Linked DNA regions of Homo sapiens: region 1 is linked to region 2. The links are contacts of gene promoters, found by promoter capture Hi-C in blood cells and fetal thymus (Javierre and others, 2016). All regions are on one chromosome and are shown on one strand. The core of a region is centred on a gene start or on the middle of the fragment in contact, and the rest is flanking DNA. Distances in the headings are between cores, read along the strand shown. Region 1 holds the start of BRD4 (bromodomain containing 4). Region 2 holds the start of ADGRE3 (adhesion G protein-coupled receptor E3).

Evidence for each region. Contacts are between HindIII fragments. The CHiCAGO score rates a contact against its expected background, and 5 or more counts as called.
Region 1: the fragment with the promoter of BRD4 here is called in contact with the fragment with the promoter of ADGRE3 in region 2 in 1 of 17 cell types (monocytes); the score reaches 5.1 in monocytes.

What each region holds. Positions count from the first base shown.
Region 1 is chr19:15,329,827-15,335,454 of GRCh38, reverse strand. BRD4 (bromodomain containing 4) reads left to right here and starts at 2,916. Exons shown (of 20, transcript NM_001379291.1): 1 at 2,916-3,165. It overlaps LOC124904643 (a long non-coding RNA gene), which reads right to left and starts at 2,842. Exons shown (of 4, transcript XR_007067146.1): 1 at 2,807-2,842. RefSeq lists silencers at 2,607-2,676, 2,817-2,916, 3,147-3,376, 3,577-3,676, 3,707-3,856 and 2 more and an enhancer at 2,034-2,650. The HindIII fragment of the contact is 24,183 bases long and covers 1-5,628 here.
Region 2 is chr19:14,671,175-14,677,338 of GRCh38, reverse strand. It overlaps ADGRE3 (adhesion G protein-coupled receptor E3), which reads left to right and starts at 2,495. Exons shown (of 16, transcript NM_032571.5): 1 at 2,495-2,593. The coding sequence starts at 2,569. The HindIII fragment of the contact is 5,907 bases long and covers 1-3,982 here.

The sequences.
Region 1 (5,628 bases), core at 1,667-4,166, 660 kb before region 2:
ATAAATTAATACATAGATACATGAATGAATGAAAAAATTTAATTTTTAACTTTGCTTAGGACCCATTAGTGATTTATGATTGCCCCTGGTTAAGCATGAGCAAACACATGATAGAAAAGAACTATTTTACTGGTATCCTATTATATCCATATATTCTGAAACCATGGGCCATCAGGAAATGTTTCATTACTTGGACTTAAAAAAAAAATACCACGCAGACTTTTTTGTTTTTTTTTTTGAGACGGAGTTTTGCCCTGTCACCCAGGCTGGAGTGCAGTGGCATGATCTTGGCTCACTGCAACCTCCACCTCCCAGGTTCAAGCGATTCTCCTGCCTCGGCCTCCTGAGTAGCTGGGACTACAGGTGCCCGCCACCACACCCGGCTAATTTTGTTTGTATTTTTAGTAGAGACGGGGTTTCACCATGTTGCCCAGGTTGGTCTCAAACTCCTGACCTCAGGTAATCTACCCGCATTGGCCTCCCAAAGTGCTAGGATTACAGGTGTGAGCCACTGTGCCTGGCCCCATGTAGACTTTTTAGAACTGAGTTTGCTTTCCTTTTTTTTTTTTTTTTTTTTTTGAGATGGAGTCTCACTGTCGCCCAGGCTGGAGTGGAGTGGCACGATCTCAGCTCACTGCCACCTCTGCCTCTTGGGTTCAAGTGATTCTCCTGCCTCAGCCTCCAAAGTAGCTAGGATTACAGGCACCCGCTACCATACCTGGCTAATTTTTATATTTTTAGTAGAGTCGAAGTTTCACCATGTTGGCCAGGCTGGTCTAGAACTCCTGACCTCAGGTGATCCACCTGCCTCGACCTCCCAAAGTGCTGGGATTACAGGTGTGAGCCACCGCGCCCAGCCTGCTTTCCATTTTTAAAAGATGGGAATACAAAATGCTAAGAGAATGGCCTGGGTGCGGTGGCTCACGCCTGTAGTTCCAGCACTTTGGGAGGCTGAGGGAGGTGGATCGCTTGAGCCCAGGAATTCAAGACCAGTCTGGGCAACATGGTGAGACCTCCTCTCCACAAAAATACAAAAATTAGCTGGGCACGGTGGCGCACACCTGTGGTCCCAGCTACTAAAGAGGCTGACGTGGGAGGATCACTTGAGACTGAGAGTTTGAGGTTACAGTGAGCTATGATCCAGCCACTGCACTCCAGCCTGGGTGACAGAGCAAGATCTTGTCTTAAAAAAAAAAATATATATATATATAAAAGGAAAGAGAAGTGGTTGTTTCCAGGTTTGAAAAATTTCACAGTATTATTTTAAGCTACAAGAGACATATGCCTAACTTCCTCCTTTTAGCAATCTCAAAACTACCCCATGTTTACTAAGCTCTTCCGTGGCCAGGTGGGGTGCTTTGGAAGCCCTAGAAGAGGTCATATGATGTTTTTTCCCCTCGGACTCACACATGTAGAGTAGGCACATACGTCCTGGAGCTGACTTAGGGTTGAGTCTTTTTCTTTTTTGGAGACAGAGCCTTGCTCTGTCGCCCAGGCTAGAGTGCAGTGGCACAATCTCGGCTCACTGCAACCTACGCCTCCCGGGTTCAAGTGATTCTTCTGCCTTAGCCTCCTGAGTAGCTGGCATTACAGGCATGGGATTACAGGCATGCGCCACCACACCCGGCTAATTTTTTTTTTTTTTTTTTGAGACGGAGTCTCGCTCTGTCGCACAGGCTGGAGTGCAGGGGCGCGATCTCCGCTCACAGCAAGCTCCGCCTCCCGGGTTCACGCCATTCTCCTGCCTCAGTCTCTCGAGTAGCTGGGACTACAGGCGCCCACCACCACACCCGGCTAATTTTTTGTATTTTTAGTAGAGACGGGGTTTCACCGTCTTAGCCAGGATGGTCTCGATCTCCTTACCTCGTGATCTGCCCGCCTCCCAAAGTGCTGGGATTACAGGCGTGAGCCACTGCGCCCGGCCCACACGGGGCTAATTTTTGTATTTTTAGTAGAGGCGAGGTTTCACTCTGTTGGCTAGGATGGTCTCCAACCCCTGGCCTCAAGCCAACCTCCTGCCTCTGCCTCCCAAAGTGCTGAGATTACAGGTGTGAGCCACCGAGCCTGGTCTGACTTGGGGTTGAGTCTTAAGGATGGGAAGGAGCTGGGCGCGGTGGCTCACGCCTGTAATACTAGCACTTTGGGAGGTCGAGGCAGGAGGATCGCTTGAGTCCAGGAGACAGAGACCAGCCTGGCCAACATCGTGAGATCCCATCTCTACAAAAAATAGTTAGCTGGGTGTGGTGGTGCACACCTGTAGTCCCAGCTACTTGGGAGGCTGAAGCAGGAGGATCGCTTGAGGCCAGCAGGTTGAGGCTGCAGTGAGCTATGACTGCACTACTGCACTCCAGCCTGGGGGACAGAGCAAGACCATGTCCCTTTTTTTAAAAAGGTGGGTTGGAAGAAGATCAACAGGGGGGCATAAGAGGAGAAAGGTGCTACCTCCCTGCCCAGGGGCAGCCAAGGAGGATCCGCCTCGGCCTTGCTCGCAGCCTCCTCTCACCTCCTTTCCTCCACTTCACCCCAGCCCCGGCGCCCCCATCGCAGCTCTCTCGCCTCAGCCTCCCTACCTGGGGTCCCCCCTTAGGGCTCTCTCCTCCGCCTCCTCCATCAGTCTGTGGGGTCCCTCCTCACCATCCTCCCTCCCTGTGAGGGTCTGTCTTCAGACCTTTCTTAGTATTTTGGATGTCTCTCTCAGCCTTCAGATCTTTTCCCGCAGGCCCAGCCTGCAGTCCGCCCGTTTCCCCCAGCCCGCTCCTTCGCTCTGCGGGGTCTCCTCCCTCAGTCCGCGGTATCCCCCACTCACCTCGCAGCCACTGTCTCTCCAGAGCTCGTTCGCGCTGGGCGCGGGGGCGGGGCGCGCACACCGGGCGGCGGCGGCGCGGGGCCGCGCGCGCAGCGTGCGCGGTGACGTCAGTGCGCTGGCGGCGGCGGCGGCGGCGGCGGCGGCGGCTGGGCTGTTTGTTCTGGTCTCCCGCAGCCGAGGAGCCGAAGCAGTGGCGGCGGCAGCGGCTGCGGCGGCTGCCGGCGGTGCCCGCGGGCGAGCGCGGCCTGTGAGCTCGGCAGAGCGGCGGGCGGGCCCCGGCGCCGCGCAGGCAGCTCGGGGAGGGGGCGGCGGCAGCGGGCGGACGGCCGGCGGGGGCGGCGTGCGGCCTAGCGTCTCAGGTGAGGACTGGTGCCCTTTGGGGCGGCGGACGACACTGGGCGGCTGGCGGAGGCTCGCGGCGCGGTCCGCGTAACCTGCATTGCGTAATGGGGCCGGGGCGCCGCCACCTACGCCATCCGCGCGGCGCGGGGGCGGGGAGGCCGGGGCTACGCGGGCTCGGGCCTGCGGGCCTCCCGCGCCGTTCGTTCCGGGCCGGGGCGGCCTGCGCCGTTGGTGTCGGGGCGGCGGGGTCGCTCGCGGCTGTCCTGCCTTTGGTGCCGTCGGACCCGGGCTTGGGCTGGCCGGCGGGGCGCGGGTGGGGGGCGCGGGCGCCGCGGCGGGGCCGGCGGTCGGGGGCGGGCGGGGGGCGGGCCGAGGCGCCCGGCACTTCCTGCCGCCGCCATTTTGTTAAGTGAGGAGGAGGAGGAGGAGGAGGAAGCGGCCGCCGCGGGGTCCGCGGCGCGCCCGGCCCGGGTAAGTCCCGGCCTGGCGCGGGGGCCGCGAGCGCAGCTGTCCCGGTCCGCGGTCCTCTAGGCGGGCTCGGCCGCGGCGCTCACGTGGGCCGGGGCCGGCGCGCTCTCCTTCTGGCACCCAGGTCGTTTTGCCTGGGCCGGGGCAGCGCGCCCCCACCCCCATCTCTTCACCTTCCCGGCGGTCCCCGGAGTGCTGCGGAGAAAGGGGCAGGTCCCCTGCGGAGGGAGGTGGCTGCGGCTGCACGCCGGTCTGAGGCCAGGCCTCAGGGCGGGAGCGGTGCCCTGGAGGCGAGCTTGGCCCGCTTGACGCACCCACTCTCAGCCTGGCAGCCCCTTGCTGGGCGCTTTGTTTTGCTCGGTCCGTGCTCGCCGGCGTCCTTGCAACGGCCTATTTTATTTGCAGTGTTGTGTGGTGGTGGTGATTGTGGTGATTTGGGGTGGGGATGTGGGGGAGTTGTGATTCAGCGAAATAAAATGATCCCCCTCCTCCCAAACGGAAATAGCATGGCTTCACTCGGCTGAGATGCCCCCAAGGCTTGGGTTTGCTTGAAGATGGGAAACCCCACTCTGTTGTAGTGGACGGTGTAAATACTTTAGTTCAGGCCGGTGCATGAGTCATGTGCTTCTCCTGGGTGGCTGACCTCCCTTTTACTCAAGACTACGCTTTGTTTTTTTAAGATTTTTATTTGCTTGTTTACTTGTTTACGTTTCGTGCAGCCTGGTGGGGTGTCTGGTCTTGGGTTCATTTCTCTGCGTGTGTGTTGGATGCTAGTGACCCCTTGGAATGTATGCCTCACGAGAATTGGAATGTCTTTGCTTACCTTCGACAGGGCTCTACCAGTCCGTGGTTCCAAAAACCAAGTCGCAGTTTACCTCGTAAGCCAGTGGCTCTTTGGGGCTGTAACAATGGTCGGGAGTTTTTTGTGAATGGAGCTGTCAAGTTCCCTACCGTCTTTGGAAGTTGTAAAGAAAGCGATACTCAAAAGGATTTATGAATGTGTTTTTAATTTCAAGAAAGTTTTTGATGGCACAATCTGTTTTATGATCTTGCCAATATATACATATACTTTTAGATGGAGTCTCGCTCTGTCGCCCAGGCTGTAGTGCAGTGGCGCGATCTCGGCTCACTGCAACCTCTGCCTCCTGGGTTCAAGCGATTCTCCTGTCTCAGCCTCTCGAGTAGCTGGGACTACAGGCGCCCGCCACCACATCTAGCTAATTTTTGCATTTTTAGGAGAGACGCGGGTTTCACCATGTTGGCCAGGCTGGTCTCGAACTCCTGACCTCAGGTGTTCCATCCTCCTCGGCTTCCCAAAGTGTTGGGATTACAGGCATGAGCCACCGTTCCCGGCCGCCAATAATTTCATAAAGCATTTATTTCGGTTTAATTTGGGTGGGGATTATGTTTTTTATCTTTTTATCTTATCACTGATGCGTTGTAGATAACCAAGCGCTTCCCCCCAAAAACTTCAGCCAGGGAAAGATAAACCACTCAGGGTTTCCATTGATCAAATGGAGAAGGCAAAGCCTAATCTGAAACAAAATGTATTGCTGCTCTGTTATCCACCATACCTCTTTCTTTGGTAGGAAACATAGTATCTTAAAGGCTCAAACTGGAGTTAGCCGGTCTCAGAATGGCTTTAGTTGGTCTTAATTGGAAGGAGTCGAGTCCACCTCCGAGTATCTTGCTAGCAGTCAGCCCAGTGGAATTGCTGAAGATAAGGAACTTTGCCTACGGATGAAAGATAAGAAGGTAGCTGCTGAGTTTTAAGGATTGTTTGGCTGTTCTGGGGTGCTATATGCCTAGCTTCGCTAGTCTGGAGGACAGCGAGGGAAAATTTTTAGCTAAGAATAACGAGAATCATTGGCCACTTAGTAACATTTCCACTAAATTATTGAATTGTTTAAAGGAATTTAGACTTTGTTTCTAAAAGTTGCCTTTTTGAGCCAGTTGTTGTGATCTTTGTACTAAATTGCACTTTTGCTTTAGGAGGTGGGGGTAACAATATT
Region 2 (6,164 bases), core at 1,246-3,745:
CCACCAGGGCTACTTTCTTGCAGTGGTTTTTTTGTTTGTTTGCCTGTTTGTTTGTTCCTTTTTGTTCCTGTTGTATCTAGTGATACAAGAGCTAAAAAGATATTATTCAGGCAACTGGTGAGGGTAAGAGAGTCCTCAGTAAGGCTTCCCTGTTAACAAAAAGCAGCCCCAAAATCATTTCTTTTCGTCTTTACCTCCACTACCAATATAACCACCACCTTTGCTATTTTCACCCCATCATTATCACCACTGCTATCACAGCCTTCGTCACCATCACCACAACAATCACCTTCACTGCAGCTGTCACCTTCAATCACCATCATCACCACCATCTCTGAAAATATCACCATAATGTAACCATCACCATCGCTACTACCATCACCGTCACTTTCATCATCTTCACCATCATCGCAACCATCGTCATCATCACCATCATCCCTTCCTTCATCGTCACCACCACCACCTATAGCTCCACCATCACTCCTGCCACTACCATGATTACCACCATCACCACCACAACCGTTATTATCACCATCATCATCATCACCACCACGACAAAGAGCAGTCTGCAAAATCGAGCTACAAACATAAATAAGCAAGCTGGAAGTTTGCAAAGGTAAATGCAGCGGCTGTGCCAATAGGAAAAGGCTTCCTGGGGGCAGGCATGTTCAACATGGAGGTTCCCTCTTCCCTTTTTTTTTTTTTTTTTTTTTTTTGAGACAGAGTCTCGCTCTTTCGCCCAGGCCAGACTGCAGTGGCGCTATCTCGGGTCACTGCAAGCCCCGCCTTCCGGGTTCACGCCATTCTCCTGCCTCAGCCTCCCGAGTAGCTGGGACTACAGGCGCCCGCCACCGCGCCCGGCTAATTTTTTGTATTTTTAGTAGAGACGGGGTTTCACCATGTTCCCTTTTCTTTATCACCACGTGTGCAGTAAAAAAGCAGGCAACATAGTGCCAGCCAGGTAGAGACCCCATCTGCATAGTAAAAGATGAGGATGGGGCGGCCAGCTTCTTTGCGTGCTATGCAAACAGCACACCCAGTCCGACCAATCTCTCGGTTCCTGTGTAAATCAGACAGCTCCTCCTCAAGCTCGGCTATAAAACCCCATGTATTTCACCACGAGACCAGAAGACTCACTTGGGAGCCCCTCTCTCTCTGCAGGATAGAGCTTTTCTCTTTTTTCTCTTCTCTTGCCTGTTAAACTTCTGCTCTGAAACTCACTTTTTTTTTTTTTTTTTTAGATGAAGTCTCACTCTGTCACCCAGGCTGGAAGGAACTGGCGCAATCTTCGCTCACGGCAACCTCTGCCTCCCGGGTTCAAACAATTCTCCCGCTTCAGCCTTCCGAGTAGCTGGGATTACAGGCATGCGCCACCATGCCCAGCTAATTTTTGTATTTTTAGTACAGACAGGGTTTCACCATGTTGGCTTGGCTGGTCTTGAACTCCTGACCTCAGGTGATCCGCCCGTCTCAGCCTCCCAAAGTGCTGGGATTACAAGGGTGAGCCACAGTGCTCGGCCTTAAATTCACTTCTTGTGCATCCGCATCCTTGATTTACTTGGCATGAGAGGATGAACCCCAGACAACAACACTGCTTCAGTAGGAAGTCTGGTGTTTTAAGTCTAATGAAGAGCTTCAGAAGAGTTTTAAGCAGGGGAGCCGGGTGCAGTGGCTCACACCGGTAATCTCAACACTGGGAGACTGAGGCAGAAGGATTGCTTGAGCCCAGAAATTCAAGACAAGCCTGGGCTACAAAGCGAGGCCCTGTCTCTCTTCAAAAAAAAAAATAAAAACTAAAAAAAATTAGCCAGGCGTGGTGGCATGCACCTGTAGTCCTAACGATTCAGAGGACTGAGGTGGGAGGATCGCTGGAGCCCAGGAGTTTGAGGTTGCAGTGAGCTATGATTGTGCCACGGCACTCCAGCCTGGGTAACAGAGCAAGACCCACATAAATAAATAAATAAATATTTGCTGGAGGAAGGGTAGATTTACAGACTTTTTCTCCCAAGTCCTGTGACTGGTTAGGGTTGGTCCAAATAACCAAATAATGTATTACCTTCTATGAGACTTTGGGACTCTTAACTTCTTATGGCTCAGCAATCATAACCAGTAAGTATCATCTACTGGGGGAAGAGAAAGATATGTTAAAATGACTCCTCTGGAAACTTCAGATACCAACACAGACACCCTAAAATCTGGTTTACTCACCTCAAAGCCACAGGCTTATTTAAGATTTATTTTGGCCCCAAAGGCACTTCCTAATCCTCAGACAATGTGATGTAACTTTCAGGGCATTTCCTCGTTAGGGTTTACCAACTCAATCATCCCAAAGGTGATCAACAATAGCTAGGCAGAAAAGGTACAGCAAATAAACGAAAAGCAGAACCATGAGTCTGATGGCGAAAGAGGGGAAGCAGTTTGCTTTTCTGATAGCAATTTCATGAGTCAGCTGACCTAAGATACATACTTCAATTCTCATGGGATTTCTTGAGCTAGGAAAGGTGGTTGGCTTACGGCACAGTAGAGAGCTTCCAGGGCTGGCTGGCGTGGGATACCCGTACCACAGAAATGCAGGGACCATTGCTTCTTCCAGGTATGTGTGACTGTAACAATGACTGAGGCTTAACCTATCCCCCAGTCAGGGACCACTTGGTTCAACAATTGGTTATTTTCTCCTCCTCTTTCTTCTGCTCTGAACACTCTCACCTTTTCCCTTTGGAGTGTGGTTTCCTTCCTGACTACCCTATTCAAAGTATGCTCTCGAATATCCCTAAAATGTTCCTATCCAATCTAGTAGCTTGGTTTTTTGTTTGTTTTGTTTGTTTGTTTTGTTTTGTTTTTTGAGACAGAATCTCACTCTGTCACCCAGGTTGGAGTGCAGTGGCGCAATCTTGACTCACTGAAACCTCTGCCTCCCGGGTTCAAGTGATTCTCCTGCCTCAGCCTCCTGAGTAGCTGGGATTACAGGCACACATCACCACACCTGGCTAATTTTTGTATTTTTAGTAGAGATGGGGTTTCACCATGTTGCCCTGGCTGGTCTCGAACTCCTGACCTCAGGTGATCCACCCGCCTCAGCCTGCCAAAGTGCTAGGATTACAGGCATGAGCCACCGCACCCGGTCTCTAATACGTTGTTCATCTTCCTCTTGGCAAGTTTTGTTTTCTAATTGATGTCTTCTCCTTCTTGATAACTTCTGCAAACTAGCCCTGCCCTGACTTTTTTCCTTTTTCTCTTGCTATTCTTTCTTCTCCCTCCTTTATCATTTTCCTGTGACAAGAAAATAAATGATAATTTTATTATTAATTTTAGAGGTCATTATATTAAGTGAAATAACTCAAACACCAAAAGACAAATGCCTCATGTTCTTGTTTATCAGTGGGAGCTAAATAATGTGGACACATGGACATAGAGAGTAGAATGATAGACGATGAAGACTGGGAAGGCTGAGGGAGTAGAAGGACAGTGGAAAATAAGAAGTTACCTAATGGTTACAATGTACATCATTTGGATGGTGGATACTCTAAAAGCCCTGACTTCACCACTATGAAATCTATGCGTGTAACAAAATTACACTTGTATCCCATAAATTTATACAAAGAAAATAATGATAACCAACATTTTTGAAAACTCACTATGCACCTTACATGTATTAATCTGTTGCATCATCAGTATGCTCATGGGGTATCCTCATCTTACAGATAAGAAAACTGGGGCACAGGTTATGTTATTTGTCCAACATCACACAGCTAGTAAATAAGAGAGCTGGGATTTGAATCCAAACCATCTGTCTCCAGATCTTTGCTATAATGCTCCTCCCACAGGATCCTTACTGGGATCTTCTGTTTTTCTACTCCCTCTCCCTATGGGAATCTCCTAATTCCATGGCTTCAACCACCATCTCTGTACGGATGAAATCCCATCCATCTTTCCAGCTCCAGATGAATTAACAATATTGATAGTCCCAATATCAATCAAAGCTTACATTTATTAAGCAGCTACTTTAGCCTGGCATTAGGCTTAAATTGCTTTACATTGTCACATAGCATCTGCACATTACAGATAAGAAATTGCATCATAGAGAGGTTCTGTGAATTTCTCAAAGCCTCACAGCTATTCTGCTGCAGAGGCAGCTGATAGGCTGTAAATTCTATCAAAATAATACAAGCTACACTTAAATCCTAATGCCATGTCTCCCTCACCTTTGCAACCCCTAGCATAGCATCTTATATATAAGAGGTGTTTCAGTATATGTGGAATCAAATGTGAAAGAAGCCTGCCTTTTTGCAACTGGAGACAGAGTCCTCCACACTTCTGAGGTGGATTATTAGTGAATTTTGGTTATCCAGGAACTTTTAGCCCATATCACTGGATGGTACAGGCAAGGGTGATGATATGAGCATTGGGTCAAGAATTAGGATTCCAGGGTTGGGCATGGAGGCTCATACCTATAATCCCAAAGCTTTGGAAGGCAAGGCGGGAAGATTGCTTGAGCCAGGAGTTCAAGACCAGACTGAGCAACATAGCAAGACTCTGTCTCCAAGAAACATTAAAAAAAAAAATTAGCCAGTCATGGTGGCACACACCTGCAGTCCCAGCTACCCTGGAGGCTGAGGTGGGAGGATCGCTTGAGCTCAGGAGTTCAAGGTTACAATGAGCTGTGATTGCATCACTGCACTCCAGCCTGAGCAACAGAGCTCAAATGATAATATAGGCAGCAAGCTAGAGCAATTAGGCAAAAAGAGAGAAAGAAAAAGCATCCAAATGGGAAAGGAGGAAGTCAGATGGTGACAGAGGCAGCCAGTATCAGTGGAGGACTTCCTGCCTGACATTGTGCTCTACACAGTCCCTCATTTAGGTCATCTCCAAAACCCCACAAAGTAGGTCATACTGCCACCCTATTTCACATAAGGAAGCTTAGAGAAGTTAAACAACTTACCCAAATTTGCCCAACTAGTGTGCCAGCCACTTAACCCCAGGGGACCTGTTTCCTCATCTACAAAATAAGTCAGTGGATGATTTCTAAAGTTTCTTAGAACTCTGGGATTCTGACACACCGATGACTCTTCAGAAACCCTAACTTAAGACCTTTGCCCAAATTAGTGAGTACAGGCTTGCTGGTTAGACTAAAGACTAGTCTTAAGGAAACATGATGGTCCCCCAGACTGCCTGAGTTTTAGGAACAGGGTAACACTATTCAGCCATATGGTTTATCAGTTGGCCCTGTGAGCTAGTCATCATTTGGGCAGGCGTAAGGTTTGTGTGGCTGCTACACATTCATGTATATACAAAAGAAGAAAGTGCCTCACGCATATAATGCCAACACTTTGGGAGGCCACAGAAGGAGGATCACTTGAGGCCAACAGTTCAAGACCAGCTCGGTCAACACAGCAAGACCCAATCTCTACCAAAAAAATTTTTTTTAATTGGCCACAAGTGGTATCTCATGCATGTAGCCCAGGAGTTCAAGGCTACAGTGAGGTATGATTGCACCACTGCACTCCAACCGGGGCAACAGAAAAAGAACCTGCCTCAAAAAAATAAAAATAAAAATAAAAAATGTAGAAGGAAGGGGACTTTAAAGGAAACATCAGCCTGACATTAAGCCCAGCTGAGAATATTCAAAATGTTCTGTGAATGCAATTGCATAAGTAACTGATCACAAACCAGACCTGGCATCTTCTTGGGGGAAGGGTGAGAATTACAGGAAGAAAAATAACAGTCCCCCCAGAGACATCCACATCCTAATCCCTGGAACCTGTTAATATGTTACCTTACATGGTAAAAGAAACTTTGCAGATGTTGATTAAGATAAGAATCTTAATATGGGGGTAGTACCCTGAATTTTCCAGGGGGCCTAATATAATAATCACAAAGGTCCTCTTAAGAGGGAGGTGGAAGATCAGGAAGACGAGAAGATGCTGTGCTGCTGGATTTAAAGAAGGAGGAAGGGTCCGTGAGCCAAGAAATGCAGGCAGCTTCTAGAAGCTGGAAAAGGCAAGGAGACAGATTCTCCCCTAGAGCTTCCAAAAGAAACCAGCCCTACTAACATTCTTGATTTTAGCCTATAGAGGCTGATTTAAGACTTCTGACTTCCAGACCTGTAAGAGAATAATAAATCAGTGTTGTTTTAAGCCACTACAGTCATGGTAATTTGTGATAGC